Linked DNA regions of Homo sapiens: regions 1, 2, 4 and 5 are each linked to region 3. The links are contacts of gene promoters, found by promoter capture Hi-C in blood cells and fetal thymus (Javierre and others, 2016). All regions are on one chromosome and are shown on one strand. Each heading gives the region's core, a stretch centred on a gene start or on the middle of the fragment in contact. The rest is flanking DNA. Distances are from core to core; before and after follow the strand shown.

Region 1 (2,700 bases), core at 176-2,675, 170 kb before region 3:
ATACCATGTCTCACATTCAGTGGGAATTCTTTCTTCTCAGTCTCCCAAATTACACTGTTTTCAAGAACAGAAAGGGTGTTTTATTCACACATATCTCCTGATCATGTGCCATGTATACAGTTGGTCTCCAATTAATACATGTCAAGTAAATTAATGTCTCATTGTAGAAGGCTACGGAGTCACAGAAGATTAACTGACTAGAAACAAAGAAAATACTATACAAAAAATATTAGACATGGTGCAGAATCAAAAGGTGGTTGTGGAAGAAATGGAATGTGTTTTTCATGAAGGAGGAATGTAACTACCCAGTGGTTTCACCTTGCCCACAGCCTAGACAGAGCCAGTTTATCAAGACAGGGGAATTGCAATGGAGGAAGAGTAATTCACACAGAGCCGGCTGTGTGGGAGACCGGAGTTTTATTATTACTCAAATCAGTCTCCCCAAGCATTCAGGGAAGCAGAGTTTTTACTGACAACTTGGTGGGTGGGGGGAAGCCAGTGAGCCAGGAGTGCTGACTGGTCAGTTAGGAAACAAGACCATAGGGAACTGAAGCTGTCCTCTTGCACTGAGTCAGTTCCTGGGTGGGGGACACAAGATCAGATGAGCCAGTTTATCAATCTGGGTGGTGCCAGCTGATCCATCAAGTGCAGGGTCAGCAAAATATCTCAAGCACTGATCTTAGGAGGAGTTTAGGGAGGGTCAGAATCTTGTAGCCTCCAGCTGCATGACTCCTAAACCATAATTTCTAATATTGTGGCTAATGTTAGTCCTACAAAGTGAATCTAGTCCCCAGGCAAGAAGGAGGTCTGCTTTAGGAAAGGGTTGTTATTGTCTTTGTTTTAAACTACAAACCATAAAGCAAGTTTCTCCCAAAGTTAGTTCAGCCTACCCCGGGAATGAACAAGGACAGCTTAAAGCTTAAAAGCAAGATAGAGTTAGTTAGGTTAGATCTGTTTCACTGTCTCGGTCATAATTTTGCAAAGGTGGTTTCAGAAAGGTGTCATGATGTGTACAATATCATCTGAAAAAGAATAAATGAGAAGCCTAGCTCTCCAATAAAAAGGCAACAATTAATGACTGCTACTGTAGAAAGGTGAATTTTCAAAAACAGAGAAGTGGTGTAATAAATATAGCTCAGGTAATATAAAAGGTCAGGGAAAAAAAGTGTGTTTTTTCCCCAGCTCTGCTACTTATAACTTGATGAGACTTTTCGATAAATCTTTTTGGAAGCTCTTAAAAACTACCAATGCCAGCCAGGTACAGTGGCTTACGTGTGTAATCCCGGCACTTTGGGAGGCCAAGGCGGGCAGAACACTTGAGGTCAGGAGTTTGAGACCAGCCTGGCCAACATGGTGAAACCCCTAGTTATAAATAAAGTTTTGGTGCCACAAAAGAAATAGCACTCGAATATAAAATGTTCTTTTTAATTCTCAGCAAGGCAATGTACTTCTATAGAAGGGTGCACCCTTACAGATGGAGCAATGGTGAGCACACACTTGGACAAGGGAGGGAAAGGGGTTCTTATCCCTGACGCATGTGGCCCCTGCTGCTGTGTCGTTCCTCTATTGGCTAGGGTTAGAACGCACAGGCTAAACTAATTCCGACTGGCTAATTTAAAGAGAGTGACAGGGTGAGTGGTTTGGTGGGGAAAATGGTTATGGCAGAGGAAGTAATCGGAATGAGTCAGGGTGGAGCAGGTAATTGGAATGAGTCAGGGTGGAGCAGGTAATCGAAAAAGGTTGCTTTACGAGGAAGTTAAAAGTAGAAGGCAAAGAATTGAACATACGAACATACTGACATACTGATTCTTTGAAGAGAAATTTAGAACTCATATCTAACAACCCCTCCTCTTATATTTCCTTACAGTTTTTTCTCTTCAAAATTCTTTAACATGTCTCGGCTTAGTTGTTTTGCTTGATTTTCCAAAGGAAGAAGCTTCTCTGGATAAGGTGGAGGATAGTTAAGGGAGGTTTTAGTGAGTGCCATTTTTATGAGCCTCTGCACCAACCCATGGATGCATGGTGTGACACAGCACCCGACAAGAATAAGTACACCCATTACGGCTGTGAGGGAAGTAAGAATTGAGGCTATTATCCTTTTCCATTTACTGAACCACTTTTCTAGCCCTCCTATAAAGGGGTCATTTACCCCTGAGTTGTTGGCTAACTCATTGGACACAGCAGTCAGACCTTGCAATGCCTTTGTTGTACTTCCATCAGGGGCGGTGTTGTTTGGGATGAAGGTACAACATTGAGTTTTAATCATGATGCAAATTCCTCTTCATTCTGCTAATATGTCTAAGGCTATCCTATTTTCCCAAGCCATCTGGCTAGTAGCCTCTAATTGCTCAGCTATTCCTTTAACAGCAACTCTAGTGTAGTTAATAAATTGCTGTTGGTTGTAGTAGATGTAGTTTATCCAATCTACATTTTTATTAATTGTCCCCCACCAAAATATTGACTCAAATCCTGCAGCTCTTTGATTTCAGGTTTTAAATTGATCTGGTATTCCCCATGGGATTCCAATTGCATTTAAATAGATGTGAGTCGAAAGACCCGTAAGTGGCTTCTCTTGCTTTACAATGTCTTATTTTTCCTTCCTCCGATTGATGAAATGCCAGGGTGAAAAGGATAGCCAATTGTACTAAAGCACAAGTGCCACTCCAGTTATTTGGCAGAGCTTCCGGTAAAGGTCCACAA
Region 2 (2,700 bases), core at 174-2,673, 240 kb before region 3:
TCATAAATCGTAACTTTGACTAGTGTTGATGAACCAGTATTGGTCACATTTGCCAATTTGTGGGGAGTTGGCATGGAAAATATGGTGGAAAATTCCGGCTGTGATGTTAAAGGTAACCATTGAACACTTGCACAAACTCAGTTGAAGAAGTTGTGGTCTTGTCAGTTTGAGCTGAGTTCAGGACTGAATCTTGAGGTCCTGAAAAACAACTTAGCCAGCACCTTGTGACCTATACTTCACAGTCAGATGTTACGTATAGTAGCATTGTAGAAACTATGGCCAGGCTATGTGACATTTTAATAGTAAGCAGTACAGTGTCACCAAACAGCTAAAGGTTATAATTAAAAAACTGAGTAGAGAAATTTCAGATACTGGCTACCTAATCATTCATAGCTATTTGGCCACTGTGTTCACTAGATATTCTTTCACCTCTCAATGAAGGTCTCACAATTCACAACATTAAAAGTGATTTTCTGGCCTGACCAAGTGGCTCATGCCTGTAATCCCAGCACTTTTAGAGGCTGATGTGTTGAGGCTTAGCTAGGCTCAGGAGTTCAAGACCAACCTGGCCAACATGGTGAAACCCTGTCTCTACAAAAATTAATACAAAAAACTAGCCAGGCATGGTGTTGCATGCCTATAGTCCCAGCTACTCAAGAGGCTGAGGTGGGAGGATTGCTTGAGCCTGGCAGGTTGAGACTGCAGGGAGCAGTGTTTGTGCGACTGCACTCCAGCCTGGGCGACAGAGCAAGACCCTGTCAAAAAAAAAAAAAAGGCAAAAGACCAGGCACAGCGAGTCACACCTGTAATCCCAGCACTTTGGGAGGCTGAGGCAGGCAGATCATGAGGTCAGGAGATCGAGACCATCCTGGCTAACACGGTGAAACCCCGTCTCTACTAAAAATACAAAAAATTAGCTGGGCGTGGTGACAGGCGCCTATAGTCCCAGCTACTCAGGAGGTTGAGGCAAGAGAATGGGGTGAACCCGGGAGGCGGAGCTTGCAGTGAGCCGAGATCTCGCCACTGCACTCCAGCCTGGGCAACAGAGCGAGACTCCATCTCAAAAAAAAAAAAAAGGTGGCTTTCCTCAGTGAAGTTCCCATGTAACATAGCATAACCCTCCAGGGACTTCCCCAGAAGTTTGTTAGAATTGAGAGCAGAGCTAAGTCTCTGGTTGTCTCCTGATAGCACCAGATAACCCTTTTCTGGGGTCACCTAGGGTCTTGCAATCATTTTGTACCCAGGGCTCAGCCTTTGATGTTTGTAGCCTTTGCTCGAGGCTACTGTTTGAGTGAGCCCAAGTGTTCCAGATGAAACGATACAGGGACAAGTTCACATAATAAGGCTGTTCCCCATCACCACCTCGGCTACCAATCAGCTGGAGCCCTGCAGCTCCCCCTACTATTCCTTTCTCCACTGCTGTAGATTTCCAGGGCTCTGAGAAAAGGAGGAGGACGCAGACTCTGCTCTTCAGATCCACATGCTGATCCCCACTACAATCAGTGACCTGAACTCAGAGTCCAAGTAGGGTAAGAAGGGCTCTGCTGAGGTTGCTCGGGGGACAGCCAGGAACACTGGAAGGAGGCTGATTGAACTTTTAGATAGCAAACAATGGAGAAGGATCCAAATCATGGAAAACAAAGGTCTGAATTCTGGTTAGCCTCAGTCCCACTGATACAGGCTTTTCCCTGCCCCTCCCTTCCTTCACCGCCAGTCCTCCTAAGCACAGTGCATTAAAGCTGCTTGCATCCTACTCTTCTATCTTGTGTAGGCCTTTATCACCAGGACAGGGTTCCACAGATGAGGAACCCTGTGCCTGATGTGGGCATTTGACATCTTTAGAAGTGCTCTCACATGCTTGCATCTCATTAGACTCTTGCAGGTCTGTAGGGAGCTGTGATTAGGCCTATCTGAGGACACCGATACTCAGAGCTATGAATCAGGCTAGAGGTTCAGTAGGGCCAGGAATACTCCTCATGGCAAATGAGGACAGATAGCTGGTAAAGAGATAACTTTTTCAAACGACCATACATCCTATGCTGTGACCACAGTAGCTCTGCGGGGGACTGTTTTAGTTTTGGTGCCTGATTGATTACAGCAACAGTTCTAAACTGATGTCCTTTTATGATGGCATTGTCAATAAGCTCTAACAAATGAAGATCATTTGTAATAGCAGTAATTAGGGAAATGGCCTCTGAGAAGGGATGCCGATAGTTAATAATGATCACATGTTTCACCCAGACTTTGGGGAAAGTGTTATAAGGAAGTCAAGGTTGGAAAAACATCATTTTTCAGAGAAGTGCAATTGCAGCCTGGGCTGTGGTTTCCAGAATCAATGCCTTCTGCCTAGGAACCACCTCCCAAGTAGTTACTCATCTTCTACATTCCCTTAAAATGCAACAATCTTTTCCACTTTGCAGACAATACGCTTAAAATGTCATTTTTCTATTGGACACATGATCTCCTGAGAGCTTATTTGGTAAAAGAGAGCTCGATAGTGATTGGCTCCTCAAATTGGGTAGAAGACAGGGTAGACAGGAGATATTTGAAATTCTCAAAAGGTACTTTATCTATATTTTCCAAATTTGTGTTAGCTCTCACAGGCTAAAGCATATTTTTAGTTCTTAGAAACTGTATTCTTTTTTTTTTTTTTTTTTGAGACGGAGTTTTGCTTTTGTCACCCAGGCCGGAGTGCAGAGG
Region 3 (2,700 bases), core at 197-2,696:
CACACACAGAATCACGACTCTGAACGTGAGCATTCTCACTGGAGGGGTAGAGGTCACTGTGGTGACCCTTTTGAGCACCCAGGAAAGATTCCCAGGTAAAAGGAGGACTGAGGAAAAGCTGGAAAAGAGGCAAGTGTCAGCCTAGGATGTGTCAGTGGGCCATGCATTCATCTACAGGAAGGGCGGTTCCGCCTGGAAGAGGCAGAGCGGCCCTTCTCCCCCTGTCCACCCATGTCTCCTCACCCCACCTCACCCCGAGATGAGGAGCCCTGAGAGAGCTGGCAGGCTGCAGTCGGTGAGGTCTGCAGATTTGGGGAAGAAGTCGAATAAGGTAGAGAACCACAGAAGGAAAGTCCAATTAGGGCGCTGGGGCCTGAGATCATCAGGCCCTAGCCTGATGACTCAGGAGTCTAGCCCTCCAGATGAACTGGCTGGTTCCACACACAGGTCAAGTGGATGTGCTGGGAGAACATCCTAAACCTGTAACGGAAATTAGGGGGCCAGGAGCCCACAGAAATCACACACTGGGTGAGCTCAAGTGTTCGGAGACTGAGGTAGCAGTTGTCCACTGTCAGGTCCCGAAAGTAGATATCGCCTTGCATATGCCATTTATCCTTCTGATGCTCTAGTGAATGAAGGTGTTGATGAGCTTGCAGACTCTGGAGACCATTCCCCTATGCTATATTATCACGTCACAATAGTGGCTGGACCCACCTGAGATTCTGCACCTCAGGTAATCAGACGGCTACTGTCTAAGTCCTGGGCCTGGGGGAAACACTCTGACGTAGCAGCAGACACAGGAGGGTCCCCGTCAGAACCATGTTTTCTGTGAAGTGGGGATCAGTCCTTTTCCCTGAAGTACCTAGCACATAGGTGTTCTCAGTAAGTGTTATGTTAGCTTACTAAGAAGACTGGTCTCATTTGAAGAGAAATTAACAAATGTAAAAAAATAAATAAACCTATTAACTAGGTTTAATATTTATCAAACTATTAACTATTCAATAATCATTTAACTATTAATTTCTGTTTTCTTCAGTCGCTTAAATCTGATTTTTCTCTTCTTTCCGTTACTGCAGTCTCCCTTTTTCACACAGGGAAACAACCCAAGACTCAGAGTTCTCCGCGGAGGAATGCAAAGAACACAGGAAGTCAGTACTCCCAGAAACAGTCTTTGCTGGCGCGCTCACACCCAACCCCATCCCGCCCCCGTCCCGTCCCGCCCCGCCCCACCCCACCCTCTTGATTTCTGGGGCCGGTGACCAGGCCCAACGCAGCCTTCAAGTCGGCCCAAACACGGTTTCTGCCTCAAGGATTATTTATATAACCATTGCTTATTGGCTGCTGGCAAACACTCGCTCTTCTCGTTGGCTGAAACTGTCGGGAGAAGTTCTGCGAAGGCTGCTCCTTGCGGCGTTGGGACTGAGGGTCACAGGCACCTGTATTTCCGTTTCCGGTTCGCCTCCGGAGCCATGGCGGCGGCACTGAAGTGTCTACTGACATTAGGAAGATGGTGCCCCGGCCTTGGAGTGGCTCCCCAGGCCCGGGTGAGTGCCTACATTCCCTGCTGTCGGAGAGACTCTGGATCTGCAGAGACATCTCCGCGCAGAGGAGGAGCGCTCCTGGCAGCCCCCGCCCTAGCGATTGCCAGCAACTTTCCTTTCTGCCAGGAAATCAACCTACCTTTCTCTGCCTGCAGGCGCTCGCCGCCTTAGTACCCGGAGTGACCCAGGTAGATAACAAGTCCGGTTTCCTGCAGAAGAGGCCTCATCGCCAGCACCCTGGCATCCTAAAGCTGCCGCACGTGCGGCTGCCACAGGCACTGGCTAACGGTGCCCAGTTATTGCTACTTGGTGAGTAACGGCGGGAAAGCGAGAAGAAACGGGACTGGACCTACATGCAAGTGATTCCGCTTTTCGTCTTTGGCCCATAGGGAGCGCTGGGCCCACTATGGAGAATCAGGTGCAAACACTGACCAGTTATCTCTGGAGCAGACATTTGCCTGTAGAGCCAGAGGAGTTGCAAAGACGGGCTAGGCATCTTGAGAAAAAATTCCTGGAAAACCCAGGTAGGACTTAAGAATAATTAAAAAGTGGGCGAGATTGAAATATCGGTTAGAAATGAAGAGTAAGAAATAATTCTACAATCTCTCAGATACTGAAGTCTCTTATTTGACTTTCTAACCAGAGCAGCAGTTGTTACAATGATGCCTTACTAAAAGAAGGTAGATTATTTTAGAGATTGCTTAGGTAAAGGTCAGAATGTCCCAGTATACTGTTTTTTGTTTGTTTGTTTGTTTTGTTGTTTTGTTTTTGCTTTGAGACAGAGTCTTGCTCTGTCACCCAGGCTGAAGTGTAATGCTCGATCTCGGCTCACTGCAACCTCCGCCTCCCGGGTTTAAGTGATTTTCCTGCCTCAGCCTCTTCAGTAGCTGGGATTACAGGCGTGCACCACCACACCCGGCTACTTGTATTTTTAGTAGAGACGGGGTTTCATCATGGTGGCCAGGCTAGTCTCGAACTTCTGACCTCAGGTGATCCGCCCACCTTGGCCTCCCAAAGTGCTAGGATTACAGGCATGAACCACCGCGCCTGGCTACCAATATACTGTTAAAATCTAGATATTTATTTTTTTCTGCAAGTCCACTGGATTAGGACCTTCTAAGTTTTTATTCAGGTAAAATAAAGTCCCTGGATGGTCCCT
Region 4 (2,708 bases), core at 155-2,654, 200 kb before region 3:
CCTGGCAGGCTGAGAATTTTGAACTGGGGCCTCAGGAAAGTAATGATTTTTTTTTTTTTTTTTTTTTTTTTTTTTTTTTTTGAGACGGAGTCTCGCTCTGTCGCCCAGGCTGGAGTGCAGTGGCGCGATCTGGGCTCACTGCAAGCTCCGCCTCCCGGGTTCCCGCCATTCTCCTGCCTCAGCCTCCCCAGTAGCTGGGACTACAGGCGCCCGCCACCACGCCCGGCTAATTTTTTGTATTTTTAGTAGGGACCGGGTTTCACCATGTTGGCCAGGATCGTCTCGATCTCCTGACCTCGTGATCCGCCCGCCTCGACCTTCCAAAGTGCTGGGATTCCAGGAGTGAGCCACCGCGCCCGACCGTAATGAATTCTTAATATTCCTTTCTGTGCCCTGTTTCAGTCTTTTTCTGCAATGTACTCATTTCCTCTGCTTTTCTTTTTCACACAGTAAGTAGACAGTCATCCCTTTCCATCTCACTTTCTAATTTTCTCTGAAATATTATTTATTTTTGAAGGGATTCTGACTGATCCCATCCATAGATCAGACATGACCATCGGACAGAATCACATTGCAAAAAATAGCTTCCAGGAGCCTTTCTTGTGGACCATGCAGAAGAGAGGCTTAGAGAGAACTGCCCTTAAGGCTGGCCAAATGGGGTCTCTGGCCTCGCCTGTTCCTCAGGCACCCCGTTGCATCTTGGAATACCCTTCTCAACATTTTCTAAGTCTCTCATCAGTGGCTGCAGTCAGCCCAGGCTGGTAGTGCCTGGCCTGAGATCCGCATGGGATCCTATTCTCTTTCTCTCCTTTGGGGCTTTCTCCCACCCTCAACCCTTCCTTCCAGCACAGGAAGCCCTAAGGAGCTTCAGGACTCATGTCTGTAGTGTTGTCTTGGGGCCAGGACTGGTTCCAGGTGAGTTAGCCCTGGTTAGAGATGTCATAGTTCCCAGAGAAAAGGGGCTAGATAGACAATTCAATACTTTTTCTTTAACCACACAGTGTGGAAACAGAAATTGAATAACAATGTACTCTTGAGGAATAGAGGAAAGTTTATTTTAAGACAGGAGGATGTGGGACCAGTAAAAACATTAAACCACTTTTACAGCTGTACTTAGTGAGTTAGGTGGATATTTTAATTAATTTCGTCTGAAAAGAAATTATACAATCTAAAACTGATTTTATTGATTCTTTTGATACTGTGAATATTTCTTCAAGTCATCTTTTTAATTTGTAAAGTTATTTTTGAAAATGCCATTTTATCTAGACAGTGCTAATAAAAACAAGAAAGTGTTTGTCCACATTTGAGTCAAGATTGCAAAAAACCCCACAAAAACCCAGGTGTAGGGGTGGCAATAGCAGAGCCAAAGAGCTTCGCAAGGAGGAGAAGCAGAAGCTCGTGGGGATGGGAAGTCTTTGGGGGCTCTTCATACTTGATGGATTTCGTCAAGTTTTTCCCTTGCTCTCTCTCATGAGTTCACTTCATTTTTAATGGGATTATTTACTTTTCAAAAATTAAACAATCCAGATAAATACAATATACTAGTGGCATGCAAAAGAAATAAATATTAAGTGTTTCATTTGCTTAAAATTTTAAAATAAATAAAATATAAAAACATTGGGGTCCATTTTATTCCTTTCTGGTAATTCTTCTTAACTCTTCTCAGCCGGGCGCGGTGGCTCACGCCTGTAATCCCAGCACTTTGGGAGGCCGAGGCGGGTAGATCATGAGGTCAGGAGATCGAGACCATCCTGGCTAACACGGTGAAACCCCGTCTCTACTAAAAATACAAAAAATAAGCCAGGTGTGATGGCGGGCGCCTGTATTCCCAGCTACTCGGGAGGCTGAGGCAGGAGAATGGCGTGAACCCGGGAGGCGGAGCTTGCAGTGAGCCGAGATCGCGCCACTGCACTCCAGCCTGGGCGACAGAACGAGACTCCGTCGCAAAAAAAAAAAAACAATAAAACAAAAAAAAACTCTTCTCAGATGAAATCATACATTTGGGGTATATTCAGTCCTTTTTTTGTACTCTTTAAGTATAATACATTCATAAGCAAAATATAGTGTTTCAGTGTGCAATTTTAATACATTTGTATAAATACTATCATAAGGTACGTATCATTCTGCAACTAGTTTTTTTCACCCAACAGTGTTTCCAAGACTCATCAATATTAAAATGTGTATTTGTTGTTCCTTTATTTTTATTGATTCATTATTTTCCCCTCTGTATTAGTATACCACCATTTATTTATCTGTCTTCTGGTGGATATTTAGGATGTTTCCAAATTTTCACTCTAACAAGCAATGTTGCAATGAGTATCTTTGTACATTTCTCCGTGTGCACATGTGGTAAATTTTCACTAATATATGCCCAGATGTGGAATTGCTAAGCCATATTCATGTCCAATTTTACCAAATATTGCCATATTTTCTTCAAACTAGTTGTGGCCAATTGTATTTTCCAAAATGTCCACACAGCCAGGCACAGTGGCTCACACCTGTAATTCCAGCACTTTGGGAGGCTGAGGTGGGCGGATCACTTGAGGTCAGGAGTTTGAGACCATGGCTAACATGGTGAAACCCCATCTCTACTAAAAATACAAAAATTTACCGGGCATGTTGGCACACACCTGTAGTCCCTGCTACTTGGGAGGCTGAGGCAGGAGAATCACTTGAACCTGGGAGGTGGAGGCTGCAGTGAGCCGAGA
Region 5 (2,810 bases), core at 191-2,690, 220 kb before region 3:
AGTTTTATTTAACCCTGTATATCATGTTTTACTTTCCAACCTGACTCTGGCATAACATTACCAGACAAACAAGAAAAAGTATTTTGCCCCAAAACATGTTTCTTTGCCACATTTTGAAATTGCCCTGCAAAGCTGTTCTTTGTGGGGGAAAATTTGCATCTGTAAAGAATCTCTATTAACATAGCTAAATATTTTTCTTCCAGACCTTCCAATCCTAAAGATATTAATTAAGATCTGAAAGGGAAACATTTGTCATCTATTGTCTCTAAGGGCAGCCACTATAAGACTTCGAAAGAATTGGTCTCTACCATCTTTATTTTAACCTGAATATTCCCTTTCTATCAATCTCAGGTCTTTAGACAAAACTAGTTGTCAACCAGAAAATGTTTAAATACACCTATGGCCTGGAGGCCCTCCACTCCCCATCAGCTTTGAGTTGTCCCGCCTTGCTGGACCAAACCAATGTATTTCTTAAATGTATTTGATTGATGTTTCATGCCTCTCTAAAATGTATAAAACCAGCTGTGCTCCAACCACCTTGGGCACATGTCCTCAGGACCTCCTGAGAGCTGTGTCATAGGCCATGGTCACTCATATTTGGCTCAGAATAAATCTCTTCAAATATTTTACAGAGTTTGACTCTTTTTTTTTTCTTTTCTTTTGTTTTGAAATGGTGTTTTGCTCCTGTTGCCCAGGCTGGAGTGCAATGGCGTGATCTCGGCTCACTGCAACCTCTGCCTCCCAGGTTCAAGCGATTCACCTGCCTCGGCCTCCCAAGTAGCTGGGATTACAGGTGCCCACCACCACGCCCAGCTAATTTTTGTATTTTTAGTAGAGATGGGGTTTCACCACCTCGGCCAGGTAGGTCTTGAACTCCTGACCTCAGGTGATCCTCCCGCCTTGGCCTCCCAAAGTGCTGGGATTACAGGCGTGAGCCACCACACCCAGCTGACTCGTTTCATCGACAATAACAAACTGCCTAGTAAAACTTCAGATACTGGCTACCTAATCATAACTATCTGGCCACCAGTTTCACTAGATACTCTTTCACCTCTCAACGAAAGTCCCACAGTTCACAATGTTATAAGTGGCTTTCTTCAGAGAAGTTTCTGTGTAACATAGCATAACCCTCCAGGGACTTCCCAGAACTTTGTCAGAAATTGAGTGCAGAAGCCAGGTCTCTCGTTGTCTACTGATAGCACCAGATAACCCCTTTCTGGGGTCACCTCACTCTAGGGTCTTGCACTTCTTCTGTGCCCTGGAGTCAGCCTTTGATGTTTGTAGCCTTTGCTTGAGGCCACTGTCTGAATAAACTCAAGTGTTCCAGATGAGAAGATACAGGAACAAGTTCACATAATAAGGCTATTCCCCATCACCACCTCCACTACCAATCAGCTGGAGCCTTGCAGCTCCCCCTGCTATTCCTTTCTCCACTGCTGCAGATTTCCAGGGCCCTGAGGAAAGGAGGACTCAGACTCTGCTCTTCAGATCCACACACTGATCCCAACTACAACCAGTGACCTGAACTTGGAGTCTGAGTAGGGTAAGAAGGGCTCTGCTGAGGATGTTTGGGGGACAGCCAGGAGCACTGAAAGGAGGCTGATTGAACTTTTAGATAGCAAACAATGGAGAAGGATCCAAATCATGGAAAACAAAGGTGTGAATTCTGGTCAGCCTCAGTCCCACTGATACAGGCTTTCCCTGCCCCTCCCTTCCTTCACCCCCAGTCTTCTCAAACACAATGCATTAAAACCGCTTACATCCTGCTCTTCTATCCTCTGTAGGTCTTTATCATCAGGACAGGGTTCCACAGATAGGAAGTACCGACCCTTTGTTCTGTGTCTGATGTGGACATTTGACATCATTAGAAGTGCTCTCAAATACATGCGTCTCATTAGACACTTGCAGGTCTGTAGGGAGCTATTATTAAGTCCATCTGAGGACACCAATGCTCAGAGTTGTGAATCAGGTTAGAGATTCAGTAAGGGCGGGAACACTTCTCATGGTAAATGAGGACAGAGCACTAGTTTAAACGGTAGACTCTTTCAAAAAGATCCCCACACTCCATGCTATCACCACAGAAGCCACTGTGGGGGCTCTTTTAGTCTTGGTGCTTGATTGATTACAGGAATATTTCAAATCTGGAATTCTGGTTGGGTGTAGTGGCTCATGCCTGAGAATCCCAGCACTTTGGGAAACCGAGGTGGGTAGATTACTTGAGGCCAGGATTTTGATACTAGCCTGGCCAACATGGCGAAACATTGTCTCTACTAAAAAAAATACAAAAATTAGCTGTGTGTGGTGGCAGGCACCTATAATCTCAGCTACGTGGGAGGCTGAGACAGAGAATCTATTGAACCCTGGAGGTGAAGGTTGCAGTGAGCCAAGACTGTGCCACTGCACTCCAGCCTGGGTGACACAGTGAGACTCTGTCTCAAAAATAAATAAACAAATAAAAACCTCAAAACTGGAGTTATTTTATGATGACATTTTCAAGGAGCAGCTCTGACAAACCAAGATCATTTGTAATAGTGATAATTAGGGGAATGACCCCTGAGAAGGAATATGGGTAGTTAGTAATGAACATACGTTCCACTCAGGCTTTGGAGAAAGTGTTATAAGGAAGTCAAGATTGGAGAAGCATCATTAAGTAATTGGAGAAGCAGGCAAGAAGTAATTGCAGGCTAGGCTGTCATTTTAGCGAATCGAAGCCTTCCTACCTAGGAACCACTTCCCAAGTAGTTACTCATTTTCTACATTTCCCTAAAATCTGACAACCCTTTCCACTTCAAGGACATAAACCTTAAAAT

Evidence for each region. The method cuts DNA at HindIII sites, captures the fragments that hold promoters and counts their contacts. A CHiCAGO score of 5 or more calls a contact.
Region 1: a contact is called between a fragment that was not itself captured here and the fragment with the promoter of METTL17 in region 3, in 2 of 17 cell types (M0 macrophages and monocytes). The highest score is 7.0, in M0 macrophages.
Region 2: a contact is called between the fragment with the promoter of EDDM3A here and the fragment with the promoter of METTL17 in region 3, in 2 of 17 cell types (M2 macrophages and monocytes). The highest score is 9.8, in M2 macrophages.
Region 4: a fragment that was not itself captured here is called in contact with the fragment with the promoter of METTL17 in region 3 in 2 of 17 cell types (M1 macrophages and monocytes); the score reaches 6.9 in M1 macrophages.
Region 5: the fragment with the promoter of EDDM3B here is called in contact with the fragment with the promoter of METTL17 in region 3 in 6 of 17 cell types (monocytes, M2 macrophages, neutrophils and 3 more); the score reaches 8.0 in monocytes.

The regions. Positions count from the first base shown.
Region 1 is chr14:20,821,352-20,824,051 of GRCh38, forward strand. No RefSeq gene overlaps it. Among named protein-coding and RNA genes, the nearest start is that of RNASE1, 20 kb to the left of the region's middle. RefSeq lists an enhancer at 379-673. The HindIII fragment of the contact is 1,018 bases long and covers 917-1,934 here.
Region 2 is chr14:20,744,464-20,747,163 of GRCh38, forward strand. It overlaps EDDM3A (epididymal protein 3A), which reads left to right and starts at 1,424. Exons shown (of 2, transcript NM_006683.5): 1 at 1,424-1,529. The region is part of intron 2 of LOC107984671 (a long non-coding RNA gene); the gene reads right to left. The HindIII fragment of the contact is 4,056 bases long and covers 1-2,700 here.
Region 3 is chr14:20,988,534-20,991,233 of GRCh38, forward strand. METTL17 (methyltransferase like 17) reads left to right here and starts at 1,447. Exons shown (of 14, transcript NM_022734.3): 1 at 1,447-1,544; 2 at 1,697-1,850; 3 at 1,931-2,065. The coding sequence starts at 1,470. RefSeq lists a silencer at 1,094-1,223 and an enhancer at 1,974-2,023. The HindIII fragment of the contact is 15,587 bases long and covers 1-2,700 here.
Region 4 is chr14:20,785,907-20,788,614 of GRCh38, forward strand. The region is part of intron 1 of LOC107984671 (a long non-coding RNA gene); the gene reads right to left. Among named protein-coding and RNA genes, the nearest start is that of RNASE6, 6.0 kb to the left of the region's middle. The HindIII fragment of the contact is 4,946 bases long and covers 1-2,708 here.
Region 5 is chr14:20,766,964-20,769,773 of GRCh38, forward strand. It overlaps EDDM3B (epididymal protein 3B), which reads left to right and starts at 1,441. Exons shown (of 2, transcript NM_022360.5): 1 at 1,441-1,543. The region is part of intron 1 of LOC107984671 (a long non-coding RNA gene); the gene reads right to left. RefSeq lists an enhancer at 1,149-1,428. The HindIII fragment of the contact is 10,803 bases long and covers 1-2,810 here.